4 separate regions of the Homo sapiens genome follow, and all the other regions are linked to region 1. The links are contacts of gene promoters, found by promoter capture Hi-C in blood cells and fetal thymus (Javierre and others, 2016). All regions are on one chromosome and are shown on one strand. The core of a region is centred on a gene start or on the middle of the fragment in contact, and the rest is flanking DNA. Distances in the headings are between cores, read along the strand shown.

Region 1 (2,700 bases), core at 174-2,673:
ATTTACCTGTTAATTTGAAAAACGACGCTTTAAAGTCACTTTGAAATATCTTGTTCTAAAATAAATTACTGCAGAATAAAGAAAGGATATGGGTTTTCTGATAGCGATTTCTAGTCTAATATTATATTCTGATTGTCACCGAAATCATTCGTTATCTCTTCAGAATATGCTACTTGAAACATCTTTTGATCGTAGACCAGTCTATGTTACTTATGGTGAAATTCACCTACATTAGCCCAACTGAAAGCCGAGCATTTAAACATTACGAGTATTGCTGTGCGGTATCGGAGAAATTGAGAACCATTCGGTGCTAAGGGAAACACTTTATTAGACTTGATGATCTACTAATTTAACAAGCATTTATTGAGCATCCCCTACATGCCAGGTACTGAAGTAGAAGTCGAATATAATACAATCTTTGGCCATTAAGAACATTACGTCCGGCCGGGCCCGGTGGCTCACGCCTGTAATCCCAGCACTTTGGGAGGCCGAGGCGGGTGGATCATGAGGTCAGGAGATCGAGACCATCCTGGCTAACAAGGTGAAACCCCGTCTCTACTAAAAATACAAAAAATTAGCCAGGCGCGGTGGCGGGCGCCTGTAGTCCCAGCTACTCGGGAGGCTGAGGCAGGAGAATGGCGTGAACCCGGGAAGCGGAGCTTGCAGTGAGCCGAGATTGCGCCACTGCAGTCCGCAGTCCGGCCTGGGCGACAGAGCGAGACTCCGTCTCAAAAAAAAAAAAAAAAAAAAAAGAACATTACGTCCAGCGGACTGAAACTCCAGAACGGCTACGATCTTCGCTGAAACTACTACTTACAGATACGAGAACTGGTGGACCACACTATCTCACCAGTTCATTCTCCTGTTTATCACCGGAATATCAAATCCAAAATCAAGAGTACCCAAGAGAGGAAAAAAGGCAGCTACTCCCGAGCAGTTGAGCTCAGAGAGTAACCCCCACTCCCACGTTACTGAGGGCTGTGGGGTCTCCCGGGTGGACCCCGCAGGGTCCCGCGAATTAGAGGGGCCCCGGGAGGCACCTTCAGAGCCGGCACCAGGCAGAGGCGGGGGCGGGGCAGGCCGGGACCGGCGTCTCCATGCCGGGCCTCGCTCACCTCTTCCACCTCGATCTCCTTGTAGTCGATCTCTTCAAAGTTGAGGACCTGGGAAGGGGCTTCGATCATCTCACCGGCCGAAGACGAGGAGGAGGAGGAGGCGGCAGAGGCTGTAGACATGATCCCTCGCGGCGCCCGGTGGGGCCGGGAACGGTGCCACCCGGACAATCCGGGTGAGACCCGCGCCCACCCGCCTCCGGACCGACCCTCAGCCTGGAGCCGCGCAGTCCTACTACCCGGCGATCCGTGGCGGGGGTAGAGGCAGCGGCCACAGCCGTGTCCGGCTCTGGCTCCGCTGCGTTTTCCGCCGACGGGCCCCGCCCACTACACTTCCGGTTCCGGGCTGAAATCGGAAACAGGAGGAGGGCCGTAAACTCCGGGGTAGGGGAGGGGAGAATTTTGTGACTTGGAAAGAAAAGGAGGGACAGGTTGGGGGTGGGGTGGAGTAAGCTAAGAAGCAAACTTGGACCTCTAGAACAAATTTCGCGAGACCTTTATTACAGGGCCTCAGCAACCGGATGATACCGCGAGAGAGGACGCCTGACGTAATTAAAGTGCGCGAACGGAAGTGGCGCGGAACATGACGGAAAATCAGTACGGTTGGTCCCTTAAGGACCAGCGGGAAAGATAAAAGCTGGGGTTTAGTCTGTGCTGCGTGAAATATGTCTTGGCCTCACTTCCTGTCCTCTGAGCTGCCTGCAGCCGGGCGAGGTGGTGTTGAACTGTGTTTTTTGTGACGAAGCTTACTTTTAAGTTTCATCCCTAAACTAAGTTGACCTGTTTCTTTAAGACGGCTTGCAAAATGTGTTTTCCTCAATGTGGGATATGGAAAGAAGCAGTTGCTCCTGTTATTTTGAGCTAGTACCTGACGCTATGAGAAATTCTAAAAGAGCGAATCAGATCATGCAACATGAATAACTATGGAGGCTGAGTGATCAAGAACAGAAGTTAATATTTTGGTGTTACAAACTTTCCACGGATTAGGTGAATAAGATATTTATAATTTGGTGTGTTCATCTCAAGTTATGGATTACGAGTGCGGGGCACTAGTGCTTTAGATTGGTAAATGAATCATCAACAGTCGCCTTGAAAATCGAATATTTTTGTCACCATTTTCAGGACATGAGAAAACACGCTGAGAGTTTAAAGCAATTATGGTCCTCACAAACTAGATCATTCTGTCCCCAAGATGGTCAGTATTGCTCATGTTGTACTACCAGCACAAGTTTTAGTTTTAAACTAACTGTTGAATTTTATATAGTCCGTTTGACATAAAGCCTAACTGTGGAATTATGTTAAACACATTTGGGATTGCAAATAGATCATTGGATTTGACCATCAAGAAGTTACAAACTCCTGGGAAACATTCTGTCACTTTTTATTCGTAGTTCTAGTGACACGCAGTGACAGTTTGATGAGTGGATAAAAAAATGAAAGAAACGATAATTTCTTTTCACTGTACACTCTCTCTTTGCATGCTCTTACCCAAGGTCTCTGTTTCTCATACTATTTTTATAATGATGACTCCTAATCTCCAAATACTCAAGATTTTTCCTGAATTCTGGACCTATTGGTCATCTCTACT
Region 2 (2,903 bases), core at 247-2,746, 1.2 Mb before region 1:
GTAACACATGCCCACTGGGGCTTCAGGAGCTGTAAACATCCACCCCTAGACACTGTCGTGGGATCAGAGCCCCACAGCTTGCCTGTCTGTGTGCTCCCCTAGAGGTTTGAGCAGCAGAGCACTTAAGAATCTAGCCAAACCCCCATCACACACCCTGCAAGGGGGACAAGCGAACTTTTCCCGTTTTACATTGGTAAAAATGTTCTGATTTACCAATGTGCCTGCAAAAAGGGAAAGGTATTCTTACAAACTTTTTAACAATCACTTTGAGAGTGCACTAAGGTTGGCTTTACGCAGTCCTCTATTTTATACACTGAGAAATGGAGCCGAAGTCTTTCTCAGAGGACCACAAGAGGAGAAGGTCGACCAGCAAGCACCCTGGACCCTGTAGCCCAGGAGTGAAGAAACTTTTTGTCTGCAGTGTCACAGCAGAACCAGGAAAGGCCATCACAAGAGAACTCTAAGGCTCTGGCACAGGAGGGAGAACAAAAAATATTTTTTTAAAAAATAAAAGGATACCAAAAGAATAAAGGAGGTAGAGAAGAAAGAAGGAAGAGGCCGGGCGCGGTGGCTCATGCCTGTAATCCCAGTACTTTGGGAGGCCAAGGCAGGTGGATCACTTGAGGTCAGGAGTTTAAGACCAGCCTGGTCAACATGGTGAAACCTCATCTCTACTAAAAATACAAAAATTAGCTGGGCATTGTGGTGGGCACCTGTAATCAATCCCACCTATTGGGGAGGCTGAGGCAGGAGAATCACCTGAACCCAGAAGGTGGAGGTTGCAGTGAGCCGAGATCATGCCACTGCACTCCAGCCTGGGCAACAGAGTGAGGCTCCATCTCAAAAGAAGGAAAGAAAGAAGAAAAATGAGCAGGAACGAAGTGTCTGTGCTAAAAGTGAAATTGATTGTCACCAGCATTTACTATGGGCTGGGGGAGGATTGAATAACACAGGGGGTGAACTTGGGGCAGACTCAGTTATCTTTGAAAGACAAAAGATGATCTCTCAAACCCAAAGTCATCGGCTCTTATCCAGAACTTGCTGTTTGTGCCTCCCGTTTCCATTAGACTACCCTCTATCTAGTATTAAAATGGAAGAGATCGCTAATAAAAGTAGAGAGTCAGTACTCTCTGATGCCCTGAATCACTGACACAGGTTTATAAAACATCTGATATAGAAAGATACTCTCTAAATACAGGCATTCGAACAAGTATTTACCTAAAGTTTAACTTTGGGCACATCATTTTAACCTATTATGTAGTTTCATCTGTTCCAACTCTTCTGTATTTCCAGGGCCAGAAGGAAATCTAAGAGATAAGCTGTGTCCAGGGCTGTAGTCAAGCCAGCTCTTTTTGGATAAGGCAGAATTACAAGAAAAGGGGCTTACATTTCCATATACTTGATCCTCTTCTAAATACTTCGCTCATTTCTAGCTCATGATAGGGCAGTAGAAAAGCCCCCTGGTATCTCTGAGCCATGATTTCAGTATCAGTATAACTGTTATCTCTACTTACTTCCAAGGAACAATGAAAAGGTGAATTCCCTAATATTTTTAAAATTATTTTAGGAAAAAGCCATGCACAGTCATGCATGCCTATAATCCTAGCTACTTGGGAGGCTGAAGCAGGAAGATTGCTTGAGCCCACAAGTCCGAGACCAGCCTAGGCAATATAGAGAGACCCAGTCCCTTCCCCACAAAAGGCTAACATTAATGAACTAATGATTAATACATATGAATTGCTGGATTCACCCCATCTACATCCTTCAGGAAGGAAGACCCTGGATCTTTCATGCCTCCAGAAACCACCTACACAGTCACTTCCTCAGACCCTAAGGGTGCGCACAGGCTGCTATGAAGGCAAAGACCGAACTTCACTGGACTGTGGGTGAGCAGCTTACGTTAGCCAAGTTTCTCCTAAAAAATGGGAGGGGTTTTGGGGGGAAAACAATTTTACTTTCTGATTAAATATGATCTTGTAATTGCTTTCCCTGTTATTACAGTTTTTAAAGCACAGTAATTTATCAAAAGATTTAAAGTCCATGAATCTAAAAATAATCATTATTTTTGGTGCAATTGTTTTTAACGGCCTAACCATTCCCTCCTCTCTGGTAGTTTTATCTGGAGTGTGGGGATTGAAGGTGAGACTCACCTTACCTGCAATTAACTACCATGAAAGGAAGGTTGAGAGGTGCCCAAATCTGCCCTAACAGAACTAATGTGCCTGAGAACACTTTTGCTATTCATGAATAAAATATGGAGTGGAAGCCAGAGAAGTGCAATTTAAGTCTCACCTTAGTTGCCCTATGTTTTCAAACTCAGTACAATGTGGTAAAATTTACAAGGCATACTCGGTTTAAAAATAAGACCAGAGGTTCCTTTATAAGTCCTACAGACTGAGGGAAATGAAAATTGCATTACATATCCACCTTTAGTCCACTTCTCTTGCACAGCTCCTGATAAATTGCTTTGCAACTTAACTGGCAATACTAGTTGGTCCCACATCCCACCCTCAGCCTCCCACCCACCAGGGTAGATTTCTGAACTTAGTGGAAAAAGTCCCACGTCTCCACTAAGTGCAGGCACTAAACCAAGCTATTAGGAAGGGGAAAGGGGAGTGGGGGTTCATTAGAGAAATGCTTTGCTAGTGGTTCAAAGTACATCTTTTCTCAGAATAACTCCTTTTTTTCCCTACATTCTATTTCTTAAGTTTGAGAGTAGGTAAATGTAAATTTTACCAAAAATAAAACAAGATTATAATGCAACACGTGAATCAGCCTTTTGAAGGGCACAGGAAGGGAAGTCACAACTCCCAACCTCCTCCTCCCAATCCCCACTCCCCAGACCATATCAGCTGGCCTGACAGCCATCAGGAGCAGTCCTCGCTGGAATTGCTGACTGAGGA
Region 3 (2,758 bases), core at 259-2,758, 1.6 Mb before region 1:
ACACAAATCAGTAGCACTGCTATGCACCAACAATGGCCAAGCTGAGAATCAAATCAAGAACTCAATCCCTTTTACAACAGCTGCATAAAAAAAATAATAACAATAGAATACTTAGGAATATACCTAACCAAGGAGGTGAAAGATCTCTAAAAGGAAAACTACAAAACACTACTGAAATAAATCACAGATGACACAAACAAATGGAAACACATCCCATGCTCATAGATGGGTATAATCAATACTATGAAAATGATCATACTGCCAAAAGCAATCTTTAGATTCAATGCAATTCCCATCAAAGTACCATCATCATTCTTCACAGAACCAGAAAAAGCAATCCTAAAATTCATTGAACCAAAAAAGAGCCCAAATAGCCAAGGTAAGCAAACAAAAAAGAACAAATGTAAAGGCATCACATTACCCAACTTCAAATTATACTACAAGACTATAGTAACCAAAACAGCATAGTACTGGTATAAAAATAGGCACACAGACCCATGGAACAGAATAGAGAACCCAGAAAGAAAGCCAAACACTTACAGCCAACTGATCTTTGACAAAGCAAACAAAAGCATAAAGTGGGGAAAGGACACCCTATTCAACAAATGGTCCTGGGATAACTAACAAGCTACGCGTAGAAGAATGAAACTCATCTCTCACCTTATACAAAGTCAACTGGAGATGGATCAACTCAAACTTAAGTAAGATCTGAAACCATAAAAATTCTAGAAGATAACATTGGAAAAAACTCTTCTAGACATTGACTTAGGCAGAGTTCGTGACCAAGAACCCAAAAGCAAATGCAACAAAAACAAAAATAAATAGATGGAACCTAATTAAACTAAAAAGCTTCTGCACAGCAAAAGAAATAATCAGCAGAGTAAACAGACAACCCACAGAGTGGGAGAAAATCTTCGCAAACTATGCATCTGACAAAGAACTAATATCCAGAATCTACAAGGAACTGAAACAAATGAGCAAGAAAAAAACAAATAATCCCATCAAAAAGTGGACAAAGGACATGAACAGACAAAAGAAGATATACAGTTGGCCAAGAAGCATATGAAAAATGTTCAACATCACTATCAAGGAAATGCAAATTAAAACTACAATGAGATACCACCTTACTCCTGCAAGAATGGCCATAATTAAAATATCAAAAAATATTAGATGTTGGCATGAATGTGGGGAAAAGGTAACACTTTTACACTGCTGGTGGGAATGTAAATTATTACAACCACTAGGGAAAACAGTATGGTGATTCCTTGAAGAACTAGAAGAACTACCATTTGATCCAGCAATCCCACTACTGGGTATCTACCCAGAAGAAAATAAGTCATTATCTGAAAAAGCCACTTGCACAGGCATGTTTACAGCAGCACAATTTGCAATTGCAAAAATGTGGAACCAGCTTAAATGCCCAAGAACCAATGAGTGGATAAAGAAAATGTGATATGTATATATACCATGGAATACTACTCAGCCATAAAAAGGAATGAAATAATGGCATTCATGGCAACCTAGATGGAGTTGGACCCCATCATTCTAAGTGAAGTAACTCAGGAATGGAAACCCAAATATCCTGTGTTCTCACTTGTAAGTGGGAGCTAAGCTATGAGAATGCAAAGACATAACAATGATATAATGGACTTTGGGTACTCAGGGGGAAGTGTGGAGAGGGGGGATGAGGGATAAAAGACTACTACAGTGTACACTCCTTGAGTGACAGGTGCACCAAAATCTCAGAAATCATCACTGAAGTACTTATCCATGTAACCAAAAACCACCTGTCCCCCAAAAACTACTGAAATAACATAAAAATGTTTTTTAAAAAGATCTTTACTAAAGATCTCTATTTGAGCAATCAGGATCTTAATATCTCCTCCAACCTGCTTCTCTCTCAGTAAGCCCTAATAATATCAACTATCTCATGTGCATAAGCCAGACATTTGAGACTAAATTTTGACCCTCTTTCCCTCATTCTAAATACGACATCAAGTTCTGTCCATTTTCCCTTCTTAATATCTCTCAAATTAGCCTTCTACTCTTCATCTGTCACTTTTAAACTATCACTATTGTCTTTCACCTGGACTACAACAAGTTCCTAATTAGTCTCTCCATTTCCACTCTTTTCTCCATCAATTCATTAAACACAGAAAAGTCAAAGTAAGCTTTTAACTTGGATTCAAATAATCTCATCTCGATGCTGAAAAAAAAAACTGCAATTGTATGCCACTGAAAATTTAAAGCATATAAATATTAGGATACCTTATCACACCCTACTTGCCTGTATGATCAGGCTATTCTCCAACCTCTTAACCTCACTTACATCTTCCAGAACAAAGACACTTTTTCAGTCTATTATCTCTCCCATCATCATCCTATCCTAACAGAAACTTTCAATAACACCCCCTGCCAACTATTTATCTAGAAAACTTCTATTTACTGAAGATAATTCATGTATGACCTTCTCTGGGAAGTCTCACCTGATCTCCTTCTTCCTTCCCATCTCTTCTTCCTCAACCTCAAAGAATTAGGTTTATTACCTCTGATTCCCATCATATACCACAATAGAGTCATTGCTACATTTTTTACAACAGAACTGTGCTTAAAATGGATGGTTTGCTACTCCCATGAGACTCTGCTTTTTAAGGGTAATATATCTTAGCCATCTCCCTAGCACCCAGGACTAGCACAAAGTAGACATTTAAATATTTGCTAAATAAAATGACTTCAAAATCACCATCACTATCACCAT
Region 4 (2,765 bases), core at 187-2,686, 1.5 Mb before region 1:
TTATTCCAAGATTAGAGTTTGTTAATCTGACATTGTCAAATGCAAATTACAAATGTGTTCTTGGCATCTTGGCATTTTAGGATCTTGGGCAAGGGATGGCAAGTAGAAATGTTTTCTTTTTTTGGAGACAGAGTCTCACTCTGTCATCCAAGCTGGAGTGCAGTGGTGCAATCTTGGCTCACTGCAACCTCCACCTCCTGGGTTCAAGTGATTCTGCCTCAGCTTCCCAAGTAGCTGGGACTACAGGTGCACGCCGCCCTGTTTGGCTAACTTTGATAGTTTTAGTAAACACAGGGTTTCGCCATGTTGGCCAGGCTGGTCTCGAACTCCTGGCCTCAAGTGATCTGCCTGTCTCAGCCTCCCAAGGTGCTGGGATTACAGGCATAAGCCACCCCACTGGGCCTTTTCTATTTGAGACAGGGTTTTGCTCTGTCATGCAGGTTGGAGTGCAATGAGTGGTGCGATCACAGTTCATTGCAACCTCTGCCTCCTGGTTTCAAGTGATGTTCCCACCTCAGCCTCCTGAGTAGTTGGGACTACAGGGACGTGGACATGTGGTTTCACTGTGTTGTCCAGGCTGGTCTCAAACTCCTGAGCTCAAGTGATCCACTGGCCTCGGCCTCGCAAAGTGTTGGTATTACAGGAGTGAGCCACCAAGCCCAGCCGAAAACGTTTTCCCTTTTTGTTTTCAGGGTTTTTAAGTGATTTCTTCCTTTTTGTAGCCATTTTGATGATTTTTGGTTATTTCCAATTGCAAATGTTTGATTTAAATTGAACTCACAATTGCCTACTAACAGTAAGATTTTTAAATACAAGATCTTTATTATTTCACTTTACTTGACAACATGGAATCAGAGGGCTTTTTGGTCCCATCAAACCTTTGGATAAGTTACAATTTGAGGGGATTTTCTAACTATAAAACAAGGGCTTTCAACAATCCCTTCCAAAGTTGAGCAAAATTAACCTTACTCTTCAAATGACTAGGCATTTAATGCTCTCAAATTTTAGAAAGGATTACTATCAAAGACTGGAAATGTCCCTTTTCTACCAGACTTTCAAGGCTCTTAGAGTCACTGTTCATTCAGTCCAGTCTCCTTAACCATCCAGGTCTATTTCTTAAGTTCCTGTAATCATGTGATGCCTGAGACCAGATCCTGAATTTCAAAAATAAGAAAACAGAATTGTTTATGAAAGGTATTCAACCAAGGTTTTCTGGCTGTACTTTAGCTAATTAGAATACCTCATGTATGAATATTCCAGGTTTTTTTTGAAATACTTTGTTAAATTCAAAATACTTGGGGGATAGATGGAAATATATGTGGCAAAGCAGGTGTAATTAACTGCTAACTGTAGAATCTAGGTAGTGGGTATATGGATGTTCCACTTTAAAATTCAGCTACATTTAACATTTTTTTATACTGAAGATTTTTATAATAAAGTGTTAAAGAAAATAGAGTTAGGGAAAATTAAGGCTGCTTTACTGGTTCACTCCAACATTATATATAATTTGAATATTTGCTTTTTTTTTTTTTTTTTTACTAATAATTCTAAAAGCTCACTTATATGTAGCATACAGCACAAATAAGCTGATCTTATGAGGTTGTAAACTTTGAACCTTCTGAATGTTTTCCTCTGCATTTTCAAGTAGGTTGGCTAGTTGGTTATAACATCTAAAAAAACAGAACTCTAGTTAATGACAGAAACACCAAGGCCATTGTAAATAAGAGCTGAAAGATTAGAGAAACAATAACATATTTAAGCACTGGCTTATTTAGGAAATGTGACAGATAACATTTAATGTTAATGTTATCTGTTATGTTAATGTTAACATTAACATAAATGTTAATACTTGAAGAATAATTAGAGAAGGATAAAGAGGTAAATTGGGATTATAAAGATTCTGAAAAGGGCTTGGTTTGGTGCTCACGCCTGTAATCCCAGCACTTTGGGAGGCCGAGGCAGTAGGATCACTTGAGGCCAGGCATTTGAGACCTGGCAACGTAGTGAGACTATTTCTACAAAGATTCTGAAAGGGATTTATAACTGTCCGTGGTTTGAGAAGAGAGTTAAAGAAATGAAAGTGGAATAACAAACTGCAAGCAGCAAAAGGAAATGTGTTTATGAAGAATGTCGCCAGGTACGGTGGCGCGTGCCTGTAGTCCCAACTACTTGGGAAGCTGCGGCAGGAGGATGGCTTGAGTCCAAGAGTTCTGGGCTGTACTGTGCTATGCCAGTTGGGGGTCCACACTAAGTTCAGCATCAGTATGGTGACCTCCCAGGAAGGGGGACCACCAGATTTACTAATGAGGGGTGAACTGGCCCAGATTGGAAACAAGCAGGTCAAAACTCCTGCGCTGATCAGTAGTGGGATCATGCCTGCGAATAGCCACTGCACTCCAGTCTGGGCAACATAACAAGACCCTGTCTCTTAAAAAAGAAAAAAAAAAAAGATGCATGTCCCCAGAAAAGAAAGGGGCTGACTGAGGGCTACTTAGCACTGAAGTGACTAGGGAGTAGAGTGTAAGGCAGTGTGCAACTCTTAACATTTCACTGTTTCCTGCCTTTTAAAGCCTTTAATGCTGAGTTAACACCAGTGGAGTAAATGAGATGCTAAAAGCATTGTATGAAATTATTCCTTAAGTGATGTAGTTCCACTTTCTATGATAGACACTGAAACTACAATCTTTTGGTCAAAATAAAGGGTGGACAAGGTGTGGTCACAAAAGCCCAAATGAGTATCAGTTACATTTGACCACTGATAGGCA

What was found. The method cuts DNA at HindIII sites, captures the fragments that hold promoters and counts their contacts. A CHiCAGO score of 5 or more calls a contact.
Region 2: a fragment that was not itself captured here is called in contact with the fragment with the promoter of MAP3K7 in region 1 in 5 of 17 cell types (fetal thymus, activated CD4 T cells, total CD8 T cells and 2 more); the score reaches 7.7 in fetal thymus.
Region 3: a contact is called between a fragment that was not itself captured here and the fragment with the promoter of MAP3K7 in region 1, in 7 of 17 cell types (non-activated CD4 T cells, fetal thymus, total CD4 T cells and 4 more). The highest score is 9.3, in non-activated CD4 T cells.
Region 4: a fragment that was not itself captured here is called in contact with the fragment with the promoter of MAP3K7 in region 1 in 1 of 17 cell types (fetal thymus); the score reaches 5.9 in fetal thymus.

What each region holds. Positions count from the first base shown.
Region 1 is chr6:90,585,649-90,588,348 of GRCh38, forward strand. MAP3K7 (mitogen-activated protein kinase kinase kinase 7) reads right to left here and starts at 1,424. Exons shown (of 17, transcript NM_145331.3): 1 at 1,116-1,424. The coding sequence starts at 1,235. It overlaps LOC124901363 (a long non-coding RNA gene), which reads left to right and starts at 1,146. Exons shown (of 2, transcript XR_007059680.1): 1 at 1,146-2,307. RefSeq lists silencers at 1,244-1,363, 1,360-1,556. The HindIII fragment of the contact is 2,842 bases long and covers 1-1,855 here.
Region 2 is chr6:89,406,800-89,409,702 of GRCh38, forward strand. The region is part of intron 1 of RRAGD (Ras related GTP binding D); the gene reads right to left. Among named protein-coding and RNA genes, the nearest start is that of RRAGD, 4.0 kb to the right of the region's middle. The HindIII fragment of the contact is 4,923 bases long and covers 1-2,903 here.
Region 3 is chr6:88,957,543-88,960,300 of GRCh38, forward strand. The region is part of intron 1 of RNGTT (RNA guanylyltransferase and 5'-phosphatase); the gene reads right to left. Among named protein-coding and RNA genes, the nearest start is that of RNGTT, 4.7 kb to the right of the region's middle. The HindIII fragment of the contact is 1,322 bases long and covers 848-2,169 here.
Region 4 is chr6:89,088,814-89,091,578 of GRCh38, forward strand. It overlaps the pseudogene RN7SL336P. Among named protein-coding and RNA genes, the nearest start is that of PNRC1, 9.4 kb to the left of the region's middle. The HindIII fragment of the contact is 7,002 bases long and covers 1-2,765 here.